7 separate regions of the Homo sapiens genome follow, and regions 1, 2, 4, 5, 6 and 7 are each linked to region 3. Evidence: promoter capture Hi-C in 16 types of primary human blood cells and fetal thymus (Javierre and others, 2016). All regions are on one chromosome and are shown on one strand. Each heading gives the region's core, a stretch centred on a gene start or on the middle of the fragment in contact. The rest is flanking DNA. Distances are from core to core; before and after follow the strand shown.

The links. Contacts are between HindIII fragments. The CHiCAGO score rates a contact against its expected background, and 5 or more counts as called.
Region 1: a fragment that was not itself captured here is called in contact with the fragment with the promoter of MICU2 in region 3 in 4 of 17 cell types (M0 macrophages, M1 macrophages, M2 macrophages and 1 more); the score reaches 16.1 in M0 macrophages.
Region 2: a fragment that was not itself captured here is called in contact with the fragment with the promoter of MICU2 in region 3 in 1 of 17 cell types (M1 macrophages); the score reaches 7.3 in M1 macrophages.
Region 4: a fragment that was not itself captured here is called in contact with the fragment with the promoter of MICU2 in region 3 in 1 of 17 cell types (fetal thymus); the score reaches 6.2 in fetal thymus.
Region 5: a contact is called between a fragment that was not itself captured here and the fragment with the promoter of MICU2 in region 3, in 1 of 17 cell types (M2 macrophages). The highest score is 6.6, in M2 macrophages.
Region 6: a contact is called between a fragment that was not itself captured here and the fragment with the promoter of MICU2 in region 3, in 1 of 17 cell types (endothelial precursors). The highest score is 5.1, in endothelial precursors.
Region 7: a contact is called between a fragment that was not itself captured here and the fragment with the promoter of MICU2 in region 3, in 3 of 17 cell types (M1 macrophages, M0 macrophages and endothelial precursors). The highest score is 7.2, in M1 macrophages.

What each region holds. Positions count from the first base shown.
Region 1 is chr13:23,145,194-23,147,893 of GRCh38, forward strand. It overlaps LOC124903134 (a long non-coding RNA gene), which reads right to left. Exons shown (of 2, transcript XR_007063719.1): 2 at 2,533-2,700. Among named protein-coding and RNA genes, the nearest start is that of LINC00362, 24 kb to the right of the region's middle. RefSeq lists an enhancer at 2,426-2,595. The HindIII fragment of the contact is 318 bases long and covers 1,098-1,415 here.
Region 2 is chr13:22,805,226-22,807,925 of GRCh38, forward strand. No RefSeq gene overlaps it. Among named protein-coding and RNA genes, the nearest start is that of LINC00621, 110 kb to the right of the region's middle. The HindIII fragment of the contact is 3,428 bases long and covers 1-2,700 here.
Region 3 is chr13:21,602,800-21,605,499 of GRCh38, forward strand. It overlaps MICU2 (mitochondrial calcium uptake 2), which reads right to left and starts at 1,371. Exons shown (of 12, transcript NM_152726.3): 1 at 1,140-1,371. The coding sequence starts at 1,349. RefSeq lists enhancers at 465-1,084, 1,085-1,703, 1,485-1,554 and a silencer at 1,105-1,314. The HindIII fragment of the contact is 1,411 bases long and covers 701-2,111 here.
Region 4 is chr13:20,190,489-20,193,188 of GRCh38, forward strand. GJB2 (gap junction protein beta 2) reads right to left here and starts at 2,450. Exons shown (of 2, transcript NM_004004.6): 1 at 2,295-2,450. The HindIII fragment of the contact is 914 bases long and covers 994-1,907 here.
Region 5 is chr13:23,115,687-23,118,386 of GRCh38, forward strand. It overlaps LOC105370112 (a long non-coding RNA gene), which reads right to left. Exons shown (of 4, transcript XR_001749786.1): 2 at 2,319-2,456; 3 at 1,504-1,582. Among named protein-coding and RNA genes, the nearest start is that of LINC00362, 54 kb to the right of the region's middle. The HindIII fragment of the contact is 4,100 bases long and covers 1-2,700 here.
Region 6 is chr13:22,757,734-22,760,433 of GRCh38, forward strand. No RefSeq gene overlaps it. Among named protein-coding and RNA genes, the nearest start is that of LINC00621, 160 kb to the right of the region's middle. The HindIII fragment of the contact is 4,442 bases long and covers 1-2,700 here.
Region 7 is chr13:22,786,996-22,789,695 of GRCh38, forward strand. No RefSeq gene overlaps it. Among named protein-coding and RNA genes, the nearest start is that of LINC00621, 130 kb to the right of the region's middle. The HindIII fragment of the contact is 1,331 bases long and covers 615-1,945 here.

The sequences.
Region 1 (2,700 bases), core at 7-2,506, 1.5 Mb after region 3:
TTATAATATTTCAATGAAACTTCAAAATCTGTTGCTCTACAACAAATCATTTAACAGATCACCTGGAATTGGTATTAAGAAATTAGAGTAAAAAATTGACGTGAAAACTTTGAAAATTAAAATGTTAAATAAAGCCAAAAGTTACTATGGCCATGGAATAAATTTCAAAGACAAATGGGCAAAGTTCGTTACACAAAATAACTGAGTTGAACAAAATAGAAAAGGAAGTGGCCACACAGACATTGCATGAAAACATTATTATTATTATTATTATTATTTTTATTTTTATTTTTTGAGACAGAGTTTCGCTCTTGTTGCCCAGGCTGGAGTGCAATGGTGTGATCTTGGCTCACTGTAACCTCTGCCTCCCGGGTTCAAGTGATTCTCCTGCCTCAGCCTGCCGAGTAGCTGGGATTATTACAGGTGCCTGCCACCATGTCCAGCTAATTTTTTGTATTTTTAGCAGAGACGGGGTTTCACTATGTTGGCCAGGCTGGTTGCGAACTCCTGATCTCAGGTGATCCAACTGCCTCGGCCTCCCAAAGTGCTGGGATACAGGCGTGAGCCACCGTGCCCGGCCAAAGACATTGATTATTAATGGTGGACTATTGGAACTCTAAAATAAATTTTCACTGCACTGCTCATTAGTTTCATTATTTATAGCAAAGAGAAATGCTTTGAAATAATTCAAGTTTAGCTATAAAAATTAAGACGTGAAGACTATCTGAAACATCTATCATATTTGATAGCTACAGGAATATTTTGAAGCATTCTTATTTATTATCTAATATATTTGTTGCACTATTAAAATACGACAGAAATAGTATTTAACTTGAAACACGGTCCTATGCCCATGAATTATGATTTATAATATCATAGGTAGAGTTAACAAGAAAATCACGCAGAATCTGTACATAAAAGGCCATGAATCAATTAGAGAACTGTTATTTCTGAGTCAGTACCAAGTGACCCATAAACTTAAGGAAGCCTGTCTCAGCTTAAAAACCAGTGTCCTAGAAAAAACCAGAATGTGTAACTGTTGGAAACAGAAGCGTCATGCTACATGAGTTGAGCTAATTCAATGATAAAACAAATAAAGCTTTTTGTTTTGAAATAATGTAAAACTGGCTGATTTTTGAAGACAGAAAATAAAAGCAAGGAAAATCGAAGAATACAAGCTGGATACTGACCTGTGTGGTAGACTGCACTATTGTTCTGAACCGGTCATCATTCTCCCTTACTTTTAGTTTCTAAATAATTTAGAGGATTATACAAGCCCATCTGCAGACAAGTGAACTGCAGCATCTTGTGAAGGATAAGCATATACATCCAGGCTCTGTTGATACCAGGTATGGGTAGGCGACTTGCCTTGGTGTAGGAGTATACTTGTGTTAACATATGCCAGGTGGAACAGAAGCTTTAAGATCTATTGTGTGTTTCCACCAGCTCCCTTGATTTTTCCCAAATAAATCCAAAACTGTGATGCTTGGCACATCTCAAATAAGAGGTTCTCCTTTAACCTAGGTCCTGGAATGAGAAAAAATATGAAACAGAGCAGCAGAGAAGCCAAACTGCAATGGTTGACATATAACATGACAGAAAACTAAATATTTCTGAACTCACTGCCTTACAAAACATAATCATGCTATTAAAACTCACTGCTAATATTTTCAGGATGTGTCCTGTCATCCTCACCAGCCACTTTTTCAAACCATGCGTCTGACAATTATTGTGAAATCAAAGTCTGCTTTTTATGTAACTCAAACTTCTGCTTTTGAGATTTTAATATATACGCATAGGTTTCAGTCAGAGAGATGAGTCATGAATACTCAGATCCAAATATATATAGCTCAAAAATAAACTGGCTACAACTTGTAAGGAGATTTAAATCCCCCTTTGCCATGCATTAACTATCAGCAGCTATTTCTTGGACAGCCTTCAGGGCTGCACACTCATGCTTCCAAAGAAAACCGTCTGTTGCAGTCACTGTGATGCGTCTACCCATCCGTCTCAGCCTGCTGTTAACCATGTCACAGACCTGCCTCTGATTCTCCCACAACTTCTGACCCCAGGTAGTGGGGAGCTACTCCCCGATTTTGTGTTACTTAGTTACCCAGGCCCAGAAACAGTTCTCCTTGAGTCTAAAGGCTCATAAAGTCTCTATTGAATAGTTTCATCAGGTTTTGTCTTGAGGAACTTTTTGACACGGAAACAGAAAAGTTCCCTTGTCCTCCTCGCAGGGCGGATGATAGGGGTGTGGCTCGCTTCTTCAGTGCCCCGCTGCCCAAACCGCTAGGGGAGCATACAGATGGGCAGGCTGTGGAGCTCCCACCCTAAGTCAGTGTCTAGGGGTGAATGTTTACAACTCCTGAAGCCCCAGTGGGCATGCTACAGGGTGCTCTTTTAGTTTAGCCATCTGTAGGCAGCTTGTGTTGGTCAGCTCAAGTAGACCCCTGCCTTATCACAAGGACAGAGATATTTCTGTATCCCAGGTTCTTGCCTTGGTGTACCAGAATCGGATCACACGTGGGCTTGGAGAATGAGTGTAACGTTTTATTGAGTAGAAGTAGCTCTCAGCAGATAAGGGAGCCAGAAGGAAGATAGTTTTCCGCTGGAGTTGGGCCACTCTGCATCCTGGGCTCTCCTCGGCTGCCCCAGCCAAACTCCGCATGGTTCTGCTTCTGTCCATCAGTGTGACCT
Region 2 (2,700 bases), core at 45-2,544, 1.2 Mb after region 3:
ATGGCAAATTCAAAATTTCTTTTTGTATTCTGAAAGCAAAGTAAAGTCTTAGAGCTGACTCCTATCAATTACTTTTATTTCATCACATGAATAAATGAATAAGAATATAAAAAAATTAATGGAGAATAAACAAATATATAAATAAATGAGAATAAGATAATTGAAGATGCTGTGATCATGTGGCATTCCATTTGTTGTGGAGGGACACACACAGATGAGGAGTGGACAGTTTTAACTGGATGGGGACAGAGATGTCCAGGAAAGTGGTTTCATAAAGGAGATTTCAATTAAGCTCATTTTTCAGAAATAAATATTTTCAAAGAACACAAAGAGGAAAAGGAAATTACTAGCAAGTGATTGTTCAACTGCTTAATAAAAATTACAGTTCTGAAACAAACATATTTTGAGAAACTTTATGTAGTTCATTACGGTTGAAATACTGAGTCTGAAGCATCAGAAACAGGGCAAGAGACCCGTCAGAGGCAGACCAGGGCGCCTCCCAGCCAGGCCTTTTCCACAACATGAGAGAAGTGGGCTTCATCCTTCTGTCAGAGGGTTTGTGTTTATGAATGTTAGGCAAGAGGTAAATATGACCAGTGCTGTACCTTTTTTTTCTTTTTGAGAAAGGGCCTCACTCTGTTGCCCAGGCTGGAGTGCAGTGGCGCAATCTTGGCTCGCTGCAGCCTTGAACTCCCGGGCTCAAGCAATCCTCCTGCTTCAGTCTCCTGAGTAGAAAGGAGCACGCAGGTGGAAGAGTACACTGACAGACACCAGCAGGCCAGTAGGCCATCGATGGGTGGAACGAGGCAGAGTTTGCAGGGAGCAGTGGGAGAAGAGTCGAGGGAAAATCATCTCCCTTCTGGCTTCCCCCGTCTGCTGAGAGTGACTTCCGCTCAATAAAACCTTGCACTCATTCTCCAAGTCTATTTGTGATCTGATTCTTCAGGTACATCAAGACAAGAACCTCTGCCTCCCAGGTTCAAGCGATTCTCCTGCCTTAGCCTCCCGAGTAGCTGGGACTACAGGTGCCTGCCACCACACACGGCTAACTTTTTGTATTTTTTTTTAGTAGAGATGGGGTTTCACTGTGTTAGCCAGGATGGTCCCCATCTCCTGACCTCGTGATCCGCCCACCTCAGCCTCCCAAAGTGCTGGGATTACAGACGTGAGCCATCGTGCCTGGCCTAGGTTTTTTTTAGAATTTCCCAAGATGGTTTAAAATTTATATGGAAATGGAAATAATGTAGAATAGCCAATGTAATCTTGACAAAGAACAACATAGAGGAAGAGCTCCATAACATTGGTCTCAGCAACGATTTTTTGAAGACGACCTCAAAAGCACAGCAAAAGCAAAAATAGACAAATGGGGTTACATCAAACTGAAAAGATTTTCCACAGTCAGGGAAACAACTGCAGAGTAAACAGATAACCTACAAAATGGGGGAAAATATTGCAAATCATACATCTGATAAGTGGTTCTTATCTAAAATACATAAGGAACTCAAGTCAGCAAGGAAAGAAATACCCCAGTTAAAAAATGGGCAAAGGACCTGAATGCATATTTCCTGAAAGAAGACATACGAATGGCCAGTGGTTATATGAAAATATGCTCAACATCACTAATCATCAAGCAAATGTAAATTAAAACCATAATAGAATACCGCTTCACACCTGTTAGAATAGCTATTACCAAAAAGATGAGATAACAAGTGTTGGCGAGGATGCTGAGAAAAGGGTATCCTTGCACACTGTTGGTAGGAATGTAAGTTGATACAGCTGTTATGAAAAACCATATGGAGTTTCCTCAAAAAAATTAAAAACAGAACTACCATGTGATGCAGAAATCCCAACACTGATTATATAACCAAAGAAAATAGAATCAGTATGCCAAAAATATATGTGCACTGCATGTTCATTCCAGCATTATTCACAGTAGCCAAGGTATGGAAACAACATAAACAACATAAGTATCCATCAATGAATGCATGGATAAAGAAATGTGGAATATACACGCAACATAATGTTAGCCTTAAAAAAGAAGAAAATCCTGTCATTTGTGACAACATGGATAAAACTGAAAGACACTATGTTAAATGAAATAAGCCAGACACAAAAAAATACTGCTTGATCTCACTTCTATGTGGAATCTAAAAAAGCTGAACTCAGATGTAGAAAATAGAAGGAGATTAGCAAGGGTTGGGGTTTGGGGAGAGGTTGGGGTGATGCTGGTCAAAGGATACAAAATTTCAGTTAGGAAGAATAAGGTCAAGAGACCTATTGTACAAGATTGTGACTATAGTCAATATTGTGTTGTATTTTTTAAAATTACTAAGAATTGCTAGATTTTAAGTGTCCTCACCACAAAATAAAATGTGAGGTAATGCACATGTTAATTAGCTCAATTTAGCCATTCAAAAATGTGTGTATATATATATATATATTTCAAAACATCATGTTGTACATAATTATATACAATTTTGTCAATTAAAAATAAATAAGTAAATAAGAAATGTGTACCAAAAAACAGGAAGAAAGAACAAAGGGTGTACACTATCTGATTTCAAGACATACTATAAAGCTACCCTAGTCAGGACAGTGTGACACTGGAATAAAGATGGACAAGTATAGTTCAATGGAGCAGAATATACAGTGCAGAAGTAAATTCACACTTATGAGGTTAACTAATTTCCAACAAAGGCT
Region 3 (2,700 bases), core at 121-2,620:
AGAAAGGCATAATGTAAATCTAAAAAAGAAAATAATAAACTACTACTTTCAATTTTCAAAAAAGCTCATATGTAAAAACTTACTAAGTCTACAAAAATTTTAAAGCACTACTCATTCAAATTTTCAAATGCGTTACAACATCATTTATCCTGAAATAGGGAACTTGAATCTTTTTTTTTTTTTTTTGAGACGGAGTTTCGCTCTTGTAGCTCAGGCTGGAGTGCAATGGCTCGATCTTGGCTCACTGCAACCTCCGCCTCCCGGATTCAAGCGGTTCTCCTACTTCAGCCTCCCGCCACCACACCCAGCTAATTGTTTATATTTTTTAGTAGAGACCGGGGGGGCGGGGCTGGGGTGGGGAGCGGCTTCACCATGTTGGCCAGGCTGGTCTCGAACTCCTGACCTCAGGAGATCCACCCGCCTCGGCCTCCCAAAGCCCTGGGATTAAAGGCGTGTGCCACCGCGCCCGGCGGACTCTTGTCTTTAATAGATGGAGGTTTTAGGAGCAATTTTTGCTTAGAACTTATGGTCCACTAAGATATTAAGGTTTATAATCATGCAATAATGTTCCTTAAAGTTGATAATAAAATCTGGAAATCAACTGGTTAATTTTTGTGGCTGACACATTCGTGACTTAAAAAAGCAATCGACAGAACTTCATCATGCTATACAAAGAAAAGATCGTAAAACTTAGTTGCAAAGCTTAACAAAGGTATATCCCACAGGGGTAACTGGACGCAAACCACCTGCGGATGTGAATGCCACTTCACTGACCAGAGAGGTAGCAAGAGGCGAGGCGCAGTGAGATTCTGAATTAGGAGCCTCGAATTAAGACACGCCCACACTCATCACCACTAAATTAGTGCGGCCAGTTTTGTGGGCCGTGGTGTTCAGCGTCCGCGGGGTTCTCCCAAGGGAGGCAGAATCTCCGGTCACCAGCCTCGAAGGCCCTCGGGGACTCAGGCCGGGGGCCGGTCCAGGAAGGAGCGAGTCCCACCAGTCGCAGGGCGCTCCGATCCGCAGCGGCACCTCCACCCACGGCTCCGGGAGAGCCGCCCAGAGCCAAACCACTCCCCGCCTAAGGGCGTCAGGGGAGGGAGGAGCTTGACTGGGGCTAGCAGAAGGAGTTAGTCCTGTACCTGTGCGGAGACTGTAAAACTGCCATCCCGCGCCGCAACACTGACGCGGCTGTGGTGCCAGGCCGCTCCTGCTCCTGCCAGGGCCGCGCCGGCCACTGCCGCTGCCAAGGGGCCGGGACTCCGCACAGCCTGTCGGCTGACAGCGAGCCCCCGTCGCAGTTTTCCGCCCCAGGCCGCCACCCGCGCGCAGCTACCCGCAGCCGCCGCCATCTTTGCGGAAGCGCAGCTAGGCGGCGCTTCTCTCCCGGCGCCGCCGCCTACCGCTTGGGAACTCTCGCGACATCCGACAGGCTTCCGCCCCGCCTACCGGGCCTGCGCCGTGGGTGCGGTTGCTGAGGCGACGCTCGCAGCCGCAAGAGGTGGCCTTCGGTTCCGGGGCTGCCTTCTAAGGCTGTGGGGATGGGATGACAGGAAGAGTATCAAGACAGTATAATATGACTTCCTAGTCCAAAACAAGATAGTGCCCTCGGTTGTGTGGGCAGGTTTCTCCTTTTCATTTTTTCACCTTGTAAAACTGTGAAACGTTTTTTGAAATAGTCTCTTCTGCATCTGTGTTGTTCATGTCTTCCTATGCTTATAGTCTTGACTGTTCTTTCATTTCTGCTAAAACAACTCTCAGACAAGGCATTCTGTTTATTTCAGTCCCTCACTATTTGCTTATAATGAATTTAAATTCAGTTTCAACAAAAGGTTTGATAGTAGCTCTTATCCTACCTAGAACTAAAAGTCAGAGACAGCAGCACACCAGCCCCATGTCTCTATCATCAGGGACCCAGAGGTTTTCCCCAGTGCAGATTTAGAACGATACCTCCAGTCCTGGCTGTTGCATTGGTGATAAGTGATGTAGCTGAGGCAGACTACTTGGTTTTATTTAACAGCCTCCAATCCTCCATTCTTTGGTCTTCACTTTTCCTGAGTAACTCTTTTTAATAAACTCTTTGTTCAGCCTCTGAAATGTCCCCAGCTATTAGAAGCTTTAGTTGGGCATGCAGTAACGGAGCCAACATCAAAGGGGCCAAGACTCCTAATCACATAATCACTGCTGTCTTGAAGTTTTGCACAAAACAAAACTTCAAGAAACAAAAACAAAAACCTGTCACACGAAATCTAATTTGATCATTCAGTGGAAGTTCCGTGGATCCCTTTGTTATTATCTGCCCTTAATCCTTGCTCCCTTTCTCTTAGCCCGCTTGTCTAAATTAATCTGCAGTCAGAGGTTCCTCACTTTTCCGTCAGCTTCTGGACTTACTTTTCAGTGTGCCTTCCCAGGTAGGAAGTAGAGAGATGAGCCTCACTTCACCGACTTGTGAGCCAGACCTCAAGGTTTGAATCTTAGCTCTACCAGGATGATCACTGTGGTTTGGGGCAAATTATTTAATCTCTCTGAGTCTCCATTTTCTCATTTGTAAATAACTCACGATTTGGTAGATGATCACTGCTATTTGGGGTAAGGTATTTAATCTCTTTGAGTCTCAATTTTTTCATCTGTGAACAACCCTCTTACAGTTTGGGGTGGGGAAGCTAAATGAGATATTTTATATAAAGTGACTAGCCAAATGCC
Region 4 (2,700 bases), core at 201-2,700, 1.4 Mb before region 3:
CACATTATTTTAAAATGACAGAAAATTCAACTCCCTCGGTTACTGGCCCAGCTAAGCGACGTCACTGCATTGCAGTTCAGCGCTGAAGCTTGGGAGAGTCCCACACTCCTTACTGCAAGCGGATGTGGAGAGGCCAGTGGATAATCTCCTGTGAGCCCATGGCCTTCTTTTCATCCCAGGATGTGAATTGTCTTCACTGATTCATAGTTACACCCTGCCTGCCACAACCAACGCTCTCCTAAACAAGATTCCACCCTCTCCACAATCCGGATGAATCATCTCTTTTCCACCCTTCAGAGCTGGTAGTGAATCCTCCTTCTTCTTTTTCTTAAAAGCATCCTCCTCTCCTCATTTTAGGCAAGTTGCATCCCGTTTTCTGATGGACTCCAGAAGCAGGCTCGTAGTGAATGTCTTTCATGACCCACAGTCGCTGCCACGGGGCACCAAGGTCAGGCAGAAACCATCCAGTGCCACCTTGGTCAGAGGCTAACAGGAGAGAGGTGGCCACGAAAGTTACATCAGATTGACATAGGCCTGTGAAACATTTAGCTTCACTGAGCTTGGGAAAGACAACATCATTGGAAAAAACAATATTTTAGCCCAGGTTCAGCACTGACCCATTGATAATCCAGACTGGGAGGCCCTTAGGTGAGCTGGTTGTCCTGCTACAGCACCCACAGCTCAGGCCAGTCCCGTCCCAACAGCAGAACCACCGAGGACAGCAACATTCCGATTTTAACAAAAGCATCTTATGGAATTAGACATTCTTCATTGGCCCTCACTGAGTGGAAAACAGGATACTCCCCGAAGTAAACTCTCTCCTGGTTTACAACAATACACCTGGCCAAGAATATGGGGCTGCAGGAGGAGGGGTTTATCCTTTGCCCTCTTCCACCTGCCAAACCCAGGTCATACACCCTTCTACAGACCTGTCCAGTTACCATCAGCTGAGAAAAATACAGTTCCGAGAAACCCTATATTGTTATTTTATAAAGCTTGAGTTGAAGCTACCTGTTTTAAAGATCCTTTTTCAGGAAGAGGAGTAAATTAAGATTTACTCCCCAATGGGCTAGGGGGTCATGGGTTAAGAGGGGCTCAGAAGCAGGACGAAGTTGTTTTCAATATTCAAGTCAGAGGAGGAGCTGCCCTCCTGGCCTCCCGACCCTGGGCGGTTACATGCAGCTTCCTACCGGGCCCACGCCATCCTGCACCGCCTGGAGGGCTGCCAGAGGCCAGCGGAGGAGTTGGTTCAGTTCCTTAGGGAAGACACTAGGTGAATCACCAGGATCCAGAAAAGGCAAAAGGGACTCTTCACCCCTTAAATTTCTCCACCCTTAGGTGATGGGTGGTCGACCTTGCCTGGCTGTCCCCAGAGGGTTCCTCCACCCTTCTCACCAGTGTCTGAAATTGTGACCGACTGTGCACAGCAGTTTCGAAAGGGACTCTAAGGTCACATGGGGACACGGCCGTACCACGCTTCTCAAGGCAGTCCCAGGTGCATGGCCACGGAACCCAGCTCTCAGCAGCTGTTAGTTAGGTGAGCGCTGTTCGGGCTGCCTTCCTCCTCCAGTGGGGCAGGATCGAGGCACTGATGGAACCGTCCTGAGGACGCGGGTCTCAGCCGCACACCACCTCTTCGCGAACAAGGGTCCTAAAAATTTTCCTTCTAGGCGGGGAGCACAGCCCGGAAACAGACCCTCGTGAAGTGTTTAGGAAAAAGGGAAGCCACTGAAATCTTGGCCCCGGGGTAGGCCGGGATCGGCTGGCTCCGCGTTAGTTCTAGGCAAACTCCGCCCAAATCTCTGCCCGGGGATTTTTCTGCAGAAGCCGCTCCAAGAGGTAAAGGTCAGTTCCTGCAGCGAAGGCTTCCTGCTTCACCGGCGAAACGGAGCTTTGCTTCGAAGCTAAGCTTTCGGTGAATTTAAAACGTTTGGTGGCAGTGGGTCAAGTAGCCAGGCGGCTGCGCTAGAGTACCCCGAAGGGACATCGGCGACACCACAAACCTCGCGCTGGCGGCTCGCCCGCGCCTTTTTCCCCTCCCGCGCGCGCCCGGCCCCACTCGCACCCCGGGCGGTGCCATCGCGTCCACTTCCCCGGCCGCCCCATTCCAGCTCCGGAGCTCGGCCGCAGAAACGCCCGCTCCAGAAGGCGGCCCCCGCCCCCCGGCCCAAGGACGTGTGTTGGTCCAGCCCCCCGGTTCCCCGAGACCCACGCGGCCGGGCAACCGCTCTGGGTCTCGCGGTCCCTCCCCGCGCCAGGTTCCTGGCCGGGCAGTCCGGGGCCGGCGGGCTCACCTGCGTCGGGAGGAAGCGCGGCGGGGCCGGGGCGGGGGTCTCGGCGTTGGGGTCTCTGCGCTGGGGCTCCTGCGCTCCTAGGCGGGTCCTGGGCCGGGCGCCGCCGAGGGGCTCCGAGTCGGGGAGAGGAGCGCGCGGGCGCTGCGGGGCCGCAACACCTGTCTCCCGCCGTGGCGCCTTTTAACCGCACCCCACACCCCGCCTCTTCCCTCGGAGACTGGGAAAGTTACGGAGGGGGCGGCGCCGCGGGCGGAGCGCGCCCGGCCTCTGGGTCCTCAGAGCTTCCCGGGTCCGCGAACCCCCGACCGCCCCCGAAAGCCCCGAACCCCCCAAGTCCCCTTCGAGGTCCCGATCTCCTAGTTCCTTTGAGCCCCCATGAGTTCCCCAAGTGCCCCCAGCGCCCTGA
Region 5 (2,700 bases), core at 190-2,689, 1.5 Mb after region 3:
AGCTAAATCCAGTGGCCAATTCCGGGCTATAATCCCACTGACTTTTTAGCCTAACTCACACTGGTTGACGACTCCCTGATCCAAAAGACACCACGTTCACATAGCTCTAGGATATGGCCCTGAGTACTCTCTCCTAATTTTCCTTCCATTTCACTAGCTATTTCTTTCACAGCACTTGCCTCTCTCTCCTCATGTCCCCAAACTCTAAATATTGGCGTTCACCAGTGACCTCTGGCTTAGGCTTTCAGCCTCTTCTCTCTCTAACTTCAGTCCATCACTTATTGATCCAATCCAGTGTCATGGCTTAAAACATCCATATTTATATCTCTGCCTCTCCTTTCAATTCCTGACTCATCTATCTAACTACTTACTTGACACTTCTGCATTGACTCAATGTCCAAAAACCAAACTCCTCATCTGTCCCCTTAAACTTGCTTTTCCAGACATCCATTTGTTTGGGGGCCAAAATATGCAATTCTCCTTAGCTCTGCTCTTTTTCTCTTACCCTACGTCCAACCCATCACCAGACTGCACCAACTGTAAAAAGTAGCCTTAACTGCTGTCTCCTCCACAATGACCACCACTTCTGCCCAAGCCACTGTCCCCTCCCACCTGGACCATTGCAATAAACGTCTGTCACCCTACTCCTATCGTTGCACTCTTTTCCCTACAAGGCAGTCTGAATGCCATTTTTAAAAATTAAGCTAGATTATACCAGCTTATCAGTATCTGTATACATCAGCTAGAGGTGCCATAACAAAATACCACAGCCTAGGTGGCTTAAACAAGTAAAACGTTGCCTCACAGTTCTGAAGGCTGAAAGTCCAATGTCAAGGTGCCAGCAGGTTCAGTTTCTCTCGAGGCCTGTCTCCTTAGCTTGCAGGTGGCCACCTTCTCCCTGTGTCCTCACATGGTCTCCTCTGAGCACGTGAATCCCTGTGATCTCTCACATGTCTCAATCTCTTCTAATAAGGGCTCCAGTCCCATTGGAATAGGGCTCCAATCATAGAACCTCATTTAACTTTAATTATCTCTCCAAAGGCTTGACCTCCAAATGCATTCACTCTGGGGGCTAGAGCTTCCACATACAAATTTGGAAGGAATGTAATCCAGTCCATGAGGTATCATTCCATGGTTTTCCATCTCACTCAGAAACAAGCCAATGTCTTTTCAGTGGCTAGCAAAGTGTTGCGTGATTGAGACGTCCACGTCTCCACTCACTTCCTGGATACTGCAGTCAAGCAAACTGACCTCTTGCTGTTCCTGGAACTAACAGGAATTCTTCTATATTTGTTATTCTCTCTCCTCAGAAATTGTCTTTCCCTCACTCTCACCCACCCCTCAGGTCTTTACTCAAATGCCGCTTCTCCACGGAACCTTCCTACCTAATTTTCAGTTGTAATTCCTGGCACCATCCTCACACCATAACACCTTTTCCTGTTTTATTTTCCAGCAAGACACCTGTCACCCTCTCTCTCAATATTGACATGACATATATTTTACCTGTGTATGTGTTTATTGTCTGTCGCTGAGCTTCATGGTGGCTGAGGTTTTTGTTTTGTTCAGTGCTGTTCGCCATCATCTGAAACAGCAACAAATATTCTATCAAGGTGACAGAAATTCATGACTATTTTCAAGGGTATACTGCTGATAGGAATTATTAACTATCTCTGAAATTTATTTGGTCTTGGCCAATAAGTGACCTCCACTTTCCCCTACTTATTAATAAACTTTTACTTGTTCTTAGACATCTCTCTGGCTGCTGACTTTGCACAACTACTCAAAACCATTATTATTTCTTGCTTCTTTGCTTGTATACTTAGAACATGCTGAAATCAGCACATACAAATTCATAAATTCAGACCTCAAGGGCTTTTCTATGAAAGTCCGTGGGTTATTGAGGTGTTAAAATAAACAAAAGTACTGTAAACAGAAAATTTAAAGATGAGAATGTTTATCAAATGCCTACCATGCACCAGGCAATTGATAAACAATTTCATTGAACCTTTACAACAAGCCAATATGTTATTAGGGTTGTTTATATTAAGTCTATTATCTCTTCTTACACTCAAGAGTCTATGTTATTCCTTTAATTTAATAAAATTACATTTTTTCAGAGTGTGCAATGTTAATTTACAACCCTCAAAAATTTTATATAACAAGCAGTTTATCGTCCCAAGTAAGCTACCATTCTCTTGTCTGTACACATATCTGCCTTTTCTCACATAGGTACCCTAGGAATCAATCTTGGTCTGAGAGACTGCATATTAACAGGAGGCCAGGAAGGCAAGAACAGGGGTGTGCCATCATCTAGTCACCTCTGGAGCAGAGCTTTGCAAAGAGCATTCCTCAGGAAGATTCCTCAGAGGTCCTCTACAATTCTCCAAAACCAGCATAATGTAGTTAGTAAGAATATGGATTCCTGAAGTCATATCCCAGCTCTCTCACTCACTTCTCTGTAAAATGAGGACAATGATGATGATAATGATGATGATTAGTACTCCTAGAGGTATGATGAGGATAAAATAAAATAATACATGAAAACAATTTTGAATTGCGCTCAGCACCTGTAAAAGCATTCAAAGGAAGTGATTATGCTACATGTTACTTTTTTATTTGTATAAAAGTACCACAAATGTATTTTATCCAGATGATAAACATTTAGTTGATTTCCAATTTTTCACTTTAATAAACAATGTC
Region 6 (2,700 bases), core at 25-2,524, 1.2 Mb after region 3:
TATGGCATTATGAGAATTTACACCTTATATTCAAGGGAAAAAAACTTCCCAAATATTAAAAAAACACTAAAAGTTCCATGGCAAAAAATAATTTAAAGTGATAAGAAACACGTAACACTTTATCAATAATGAGTGTGCATTTCTTTACCTCATTTATGTTTCAGAGTTTCTAAGAATATGGTATTTTTTCCACGGGAAAGCATATATTAAGGTAAGCTAACCTTTCATTTTAAACCTAAACACATTCAGAATGCTTTGCAATCTTATTTTGCCTTACAATGTTATTTTTCCAATGTTGAATTGGAGTTCATGGTTCTCTTTGTTTTATCCAATAAAATGTTATCCAATAATATTTATGCAATAGTCTAGATATCTACTATATTTTATGTAATAGTTCATATGTCCATGCAAATTGAATCATTTCAAAAATATAGAATGATGTATGAAAAATTATGGCTAACACTTAGAAATCTACGAAGCCTCTATAAAATTAAACAGTTTCCTCACTTTAACTTTCTACTTTCCTTTCCTACCCACAACTTTGGTCAGTTTCTTAAATTGGAGCATACAAGTATATTAAAAAAAAAAAAAATTCCACAAAGCTATTGTTGTGAATAGCAAAACCCAAAGCTAACCAGCGTGAGCATAAGAAGGAGAGGCTTTGTGAGGAATTTATGCACAACTGGAGGAGGAGTTGAATAACAAAGCTGGGAAGGGGAGTGGTAGGCCTGTGTTCTCGGGTACCTGGTTTCCGTGCTGCAGTCCAGATGTGAGTCCTAGGGTCTTCTGGGTCAATCAGGTGTCATCTGTAGAAGCTGTAGTTGGACTTGCTTAAACTCAGGGGCCAGGGCAGTGTTAGTCACATACGTTCACCAACATCAAAGACAATGTGCAAACTACTAAGTGTCAACTACATCTAGTTGGTGTAGATCTAGACAAAGCAAAAGACAGGTCTAGAAGGTAGTGGTGCTAGTTGTGGTAGAGTATCACTTTCAATCCTAGCTGTAAAGATTCGTTACTAAAGTGATCCAAATGTAAATTGTGTTATTAACCAGATAATTGAACATTTCTAGCCCCACAGATTTAGGTCAAACATGATATTTATCGATTTTAGATGCAAATTGTGTACTGTAAGGACAATTATAAATTTCTCAATATGAATGTGGTCTTCTTTCTTGCGGAAGTAACTAGCTAAACTAAATGAAGGCATAGATCATAAAGCACGTCACCTCCCACTAGGTGTTAAAGTAGATGAGAAGAAATCTGAGAATATTTCGGATGAAAAGACTTTTTTACAGCAGGAAATAAAGGTATTAGCTGTTGCCATGAGTAAGTCGGTGGGTAACAGTGGATCACTATGGCCATGAGAGTAAAATCATTTGCAGACAGAGGACCAATATACATCTGTGGGAAGTGGTAAATTCCAAGGATGTACAGGTAATACATTGGCATGTGTGCCCTTCTTAAGTCTTTTTTATATCCTGACATCAATTTCTCAGTAACAAAGTAATTAGACCTATCCTTTATTGAGCATTAATTCCATGTCAGTCCTGTATCTGCTTTACATGCAGTTACATATTTAAGGTTCACAACAACCCTGTGAGGTATTATTATTGTATCTTTTTCTTACAGACTAGGAAACCAAGACATGGAAGAGTTAAGTAATCTACTCAAGATCACACATCTAAGAATGATTTAATCAGCCGGGTGCAGTGGCTCACCCCTGTCATCCCAGCACTTTGGGAGGCCGAGGCGGGCGGATCATGAGGTCAGGAGATCGAGACCATCCTGGCCAACATGGCGAAAACTCATCTCTACTAAAACAAAATTAGCCAGGTGTGGTGGTGGGCCCCTGTAGTCCCAGCTACTCGGGAGGCTGAGGCAGGAGAATGGCATGAACCCGGGAGGCAGAGCTTGCAGTGAGCCAAGATCGGGCCACTGCACTCCAGCCTGGGCAACAGAGCAAAACTCTGTCCCAAAAAAAAAAAAAAAAAAGGAAAGATTTCAAATCACAATCCAACTTTACAACTTAAAAAATTAGCAAAAGAACAAACTAAATCCAAAGCTAGCAGAAGGAAGGAAATAATTAATATCAGAGCAGAGATAAATGAAATAGAGAATAGAAAAAAAATCAGTGAAACTAAAAAGGTCTTTGAAAAGATAAAATTAACAAGCCTTTAGCTAAATGAACTAAGAAAAAAAGAAAGAAGACAAATTACTAAATTCAGAAAGGGAAGTGGGGACATTATTACTAATTCTACATAAATAAAAATTGCATTTTTTGGCAGGGCGCGGTGGCTCATGCCTGTAATCCCAGCACTTTGGGAGGCCGAAAGTGGGGATCACGAGGTTATGAGATCGAGACAATCCTGGCCAACATGGTGAAACCCCATGTCTACTAAAAAATGGTAGTGGTGGCGGGCGCCTGTAGTCCTAGCTACTTGGGAGGCTGAGCCTGGAGAATTGCTTGAACTGGGGAGGCAGAGGTTGCAATGAGCCGAGATCATGCCACTGCACTCCAGCGTGGCGACAGAGCAAGACTCCGTCTCAAAAAAAAAAAAAATGCATTTTGTGCCCTAAAAATCAACAGTCTGAAAATTAAATTACAGGAACAATTTCTTTTACAGTAGCTTCAAAAATAATAAAATACTGAGGAATTAATTTAACCAAGGAGGTGAAAGATTAAGTGTACAATAAAAA
Region 7 (2,700 bases), core at 30-2,529, 1.2 Mb after region 3:
AAAAATAAAGAGAGAATAAGAAAAGGCAAAAGAATACATAAACAAAATCTTGGAATTATTGAATCTGGGTGATGGAATTATACTGGATCTTTCTTTATAGCTTTTTTATTACAAAAAGAAAATAAGTGATAATTATAAATACCAAAAATCAAGATACTTTGAATAGTGGAACAAACAGCTGGAAAACTTTGAGATAGCTTACTGCTGGAACACGTGCTAAATAAATAACAAGCAGTTTTGTTCTTGGTTCTTTGTTACTTGCAGTTGAACACGTTAAAACCAATACCCCTAATTCTACTACACTTTATGTTATTTTTATTATTTATTTATTTATTATTATTTTTTTTTTTTGAGATGGAGTCTCGCTCTGTCGCCCAGGCTGGAGTGCAGTGGCGCGATCTCAGCTCACTGCAAACACTTTATGCTACTATGAATACAATTTTGAATTTATATTTAAACCCATTGACAAAAGTACAGATTTTCTCATAGTTTTAAGAGCTGACTATAATATGAAGCCTTAAGATTGACAGAGCATTTTTCCTTTTAAACTATAGTGCTCTTCAAAAAGGTTTATAAATTAGTCTATGTAACTAGATCATTCAAAAGAGTAATTAAGCTTTTTACACATATACAATAAGATTTGCAAGAAGGGCAAATAGACAACAAAATCTGTGTATATAGAAATAATCAGTTTAAGGAAGTAAAATAAATATATATGTAAATAAATATTTGTAGTTGGTGTGGGTTTCAGCTGAGAGACGGCAGCTCACTCACACCTGACAGACCATAATCTATTTTCAAAGTAGGGGGATAATCAGAACAGAAAGAAATGTAAGTGTCAGTTAACTCAAGTAAAGTCATGTCCTGCTTCTCACTAAATGCTCACAATATAAGCTACATACAATAAAATTATAAAGAGATATAAATATGAGTCTCTACTAAAATTGTACTTTAGCAAACAGCTAACAGCATGCTTCATTCATGTCATCTTTAAGTAAATATATGTAGTGCCCACAAACCAAACTTTCTTTTCTTCAATAATCATGAAAAATATAATACCAGCAAGTTTGGTCATAATTTTCTATGGGTAAAAATCACTAGATATTTAACTATACTTAGTGGCAAAAATCACATGGTATCTTAGCAGGTTTTCTCTCCAAGAGGTTTTATTTGATGTTTGACTTAAAGGTTATGTAGTGCCATGAAAGGGCACATAGCCTATCTTTTCTTTTTTCTAAGTTTCATCTACCACCACTTAGTGGATAGATATTTCTTGAGTACCTTCACTTAGAATTCTATCTGAGGCTTTTAACAATATCAATAGTCATTTTGCCCATGTGTGTAGAAGATCTGTGGTTGCTCGGGGGTTTTGTTTTTATAACACACTAAAGTAAATCAGAAGTGAAAGCACTTCTCTCTGAGATTATTTTTAAATCTAAACAAATAAATAAACTCAAGGGAATTTAATTTTGATAAAATAGGACTCCAGGAAAATCTGTCTCATGGCCTTTCTGAATGAAGAAAATGGAAATAAAATGTAAATGTGATTTTGGAGATGTGTCTTCCACAAAACAAGTGTTGACAAGATAATCTCTCCATTTGTTCCAGGTCCTCTAATTCTAGCACTCTATAAGCATAAAAATAATCTAATTAAGTTTAATGCTTTGAAATATTTCCTTTATTGCAAATCAGTACCCAGATGAAGAATAAGATGAAACCACACTTACATGACTCTAAATACCTGAGATTTCTGAGTAAGGTGGGGAACAAAGATCTGTTTCTCTAACTAAAGGATGATTAGATTAATTTTTCCCTCCATTAGCAGCCCTATATCTTTCTCCATCCTCTCTCACTTGTTACTCAACTATTTGAGCTTCTCTATCACTAAACTTATAACGTATTCCCTGCCTGGGCTTCAAAGCGATATTCACATTAACAGATAAAAAGCTTCATGCACTGTCTGAGCTAAGACTGCCACAGTAAACTCTGAAATGATGACATGAGAGCATGATAAATATCCTGACACAAAAAAGCTATTTTTCAGGGGAGGCCACTACCCCATAAGCAAACCTTTGTTGCTCTATCTGTGAACTCAAGGATCTGTCCTCCCATTGAAAGGCCCCAGAGTCGACAGGCTGAGTACTCCAAGTCGCTGACACCAGGGGACAGAACAAAGAATCTGTCCAAGTCTTGATCTCCTTAGCTCAGCGCAGGCCAAGTTCAGCTCAGCGATCTATCAAAGTGCTGGAATGTGCAGCAAGTAAATACCCACATTCTGCCAAGGGAGAAGAAAAGCTGGACCATTGACTACTGTTCTGGGACAAAGCAAATTCTCCCACATCAAAAGAGCACAAGCAGCCCTCATCCAGGTCTACACTGTATAATGGGTAGATTTTCGGCGAGTGTGCAAAAGATAAATGGTGCTTTTATCTCACATTCCCCCACCCCCCTTGCAATGAGAGTTTATGTTAGAGCCACTTAACTGCGTGGAGTGCAGCTTGGTGGATTACCTGTTTGTATGACTCAGTACCTGACCTGATCCTGTGGCGAGAGGAGACGGGGGAGGATGAGAGTTTTGTAAAATCAGTTTTGCTTTGAAGGGATCTTCAGCAATTTCTGAAGCCTCACAAAGACCTCTATACATACTGGCCCTTATAAGGAGAAAGGATTAGAAGGGAACAATGCACCCAGTAGAGAAGT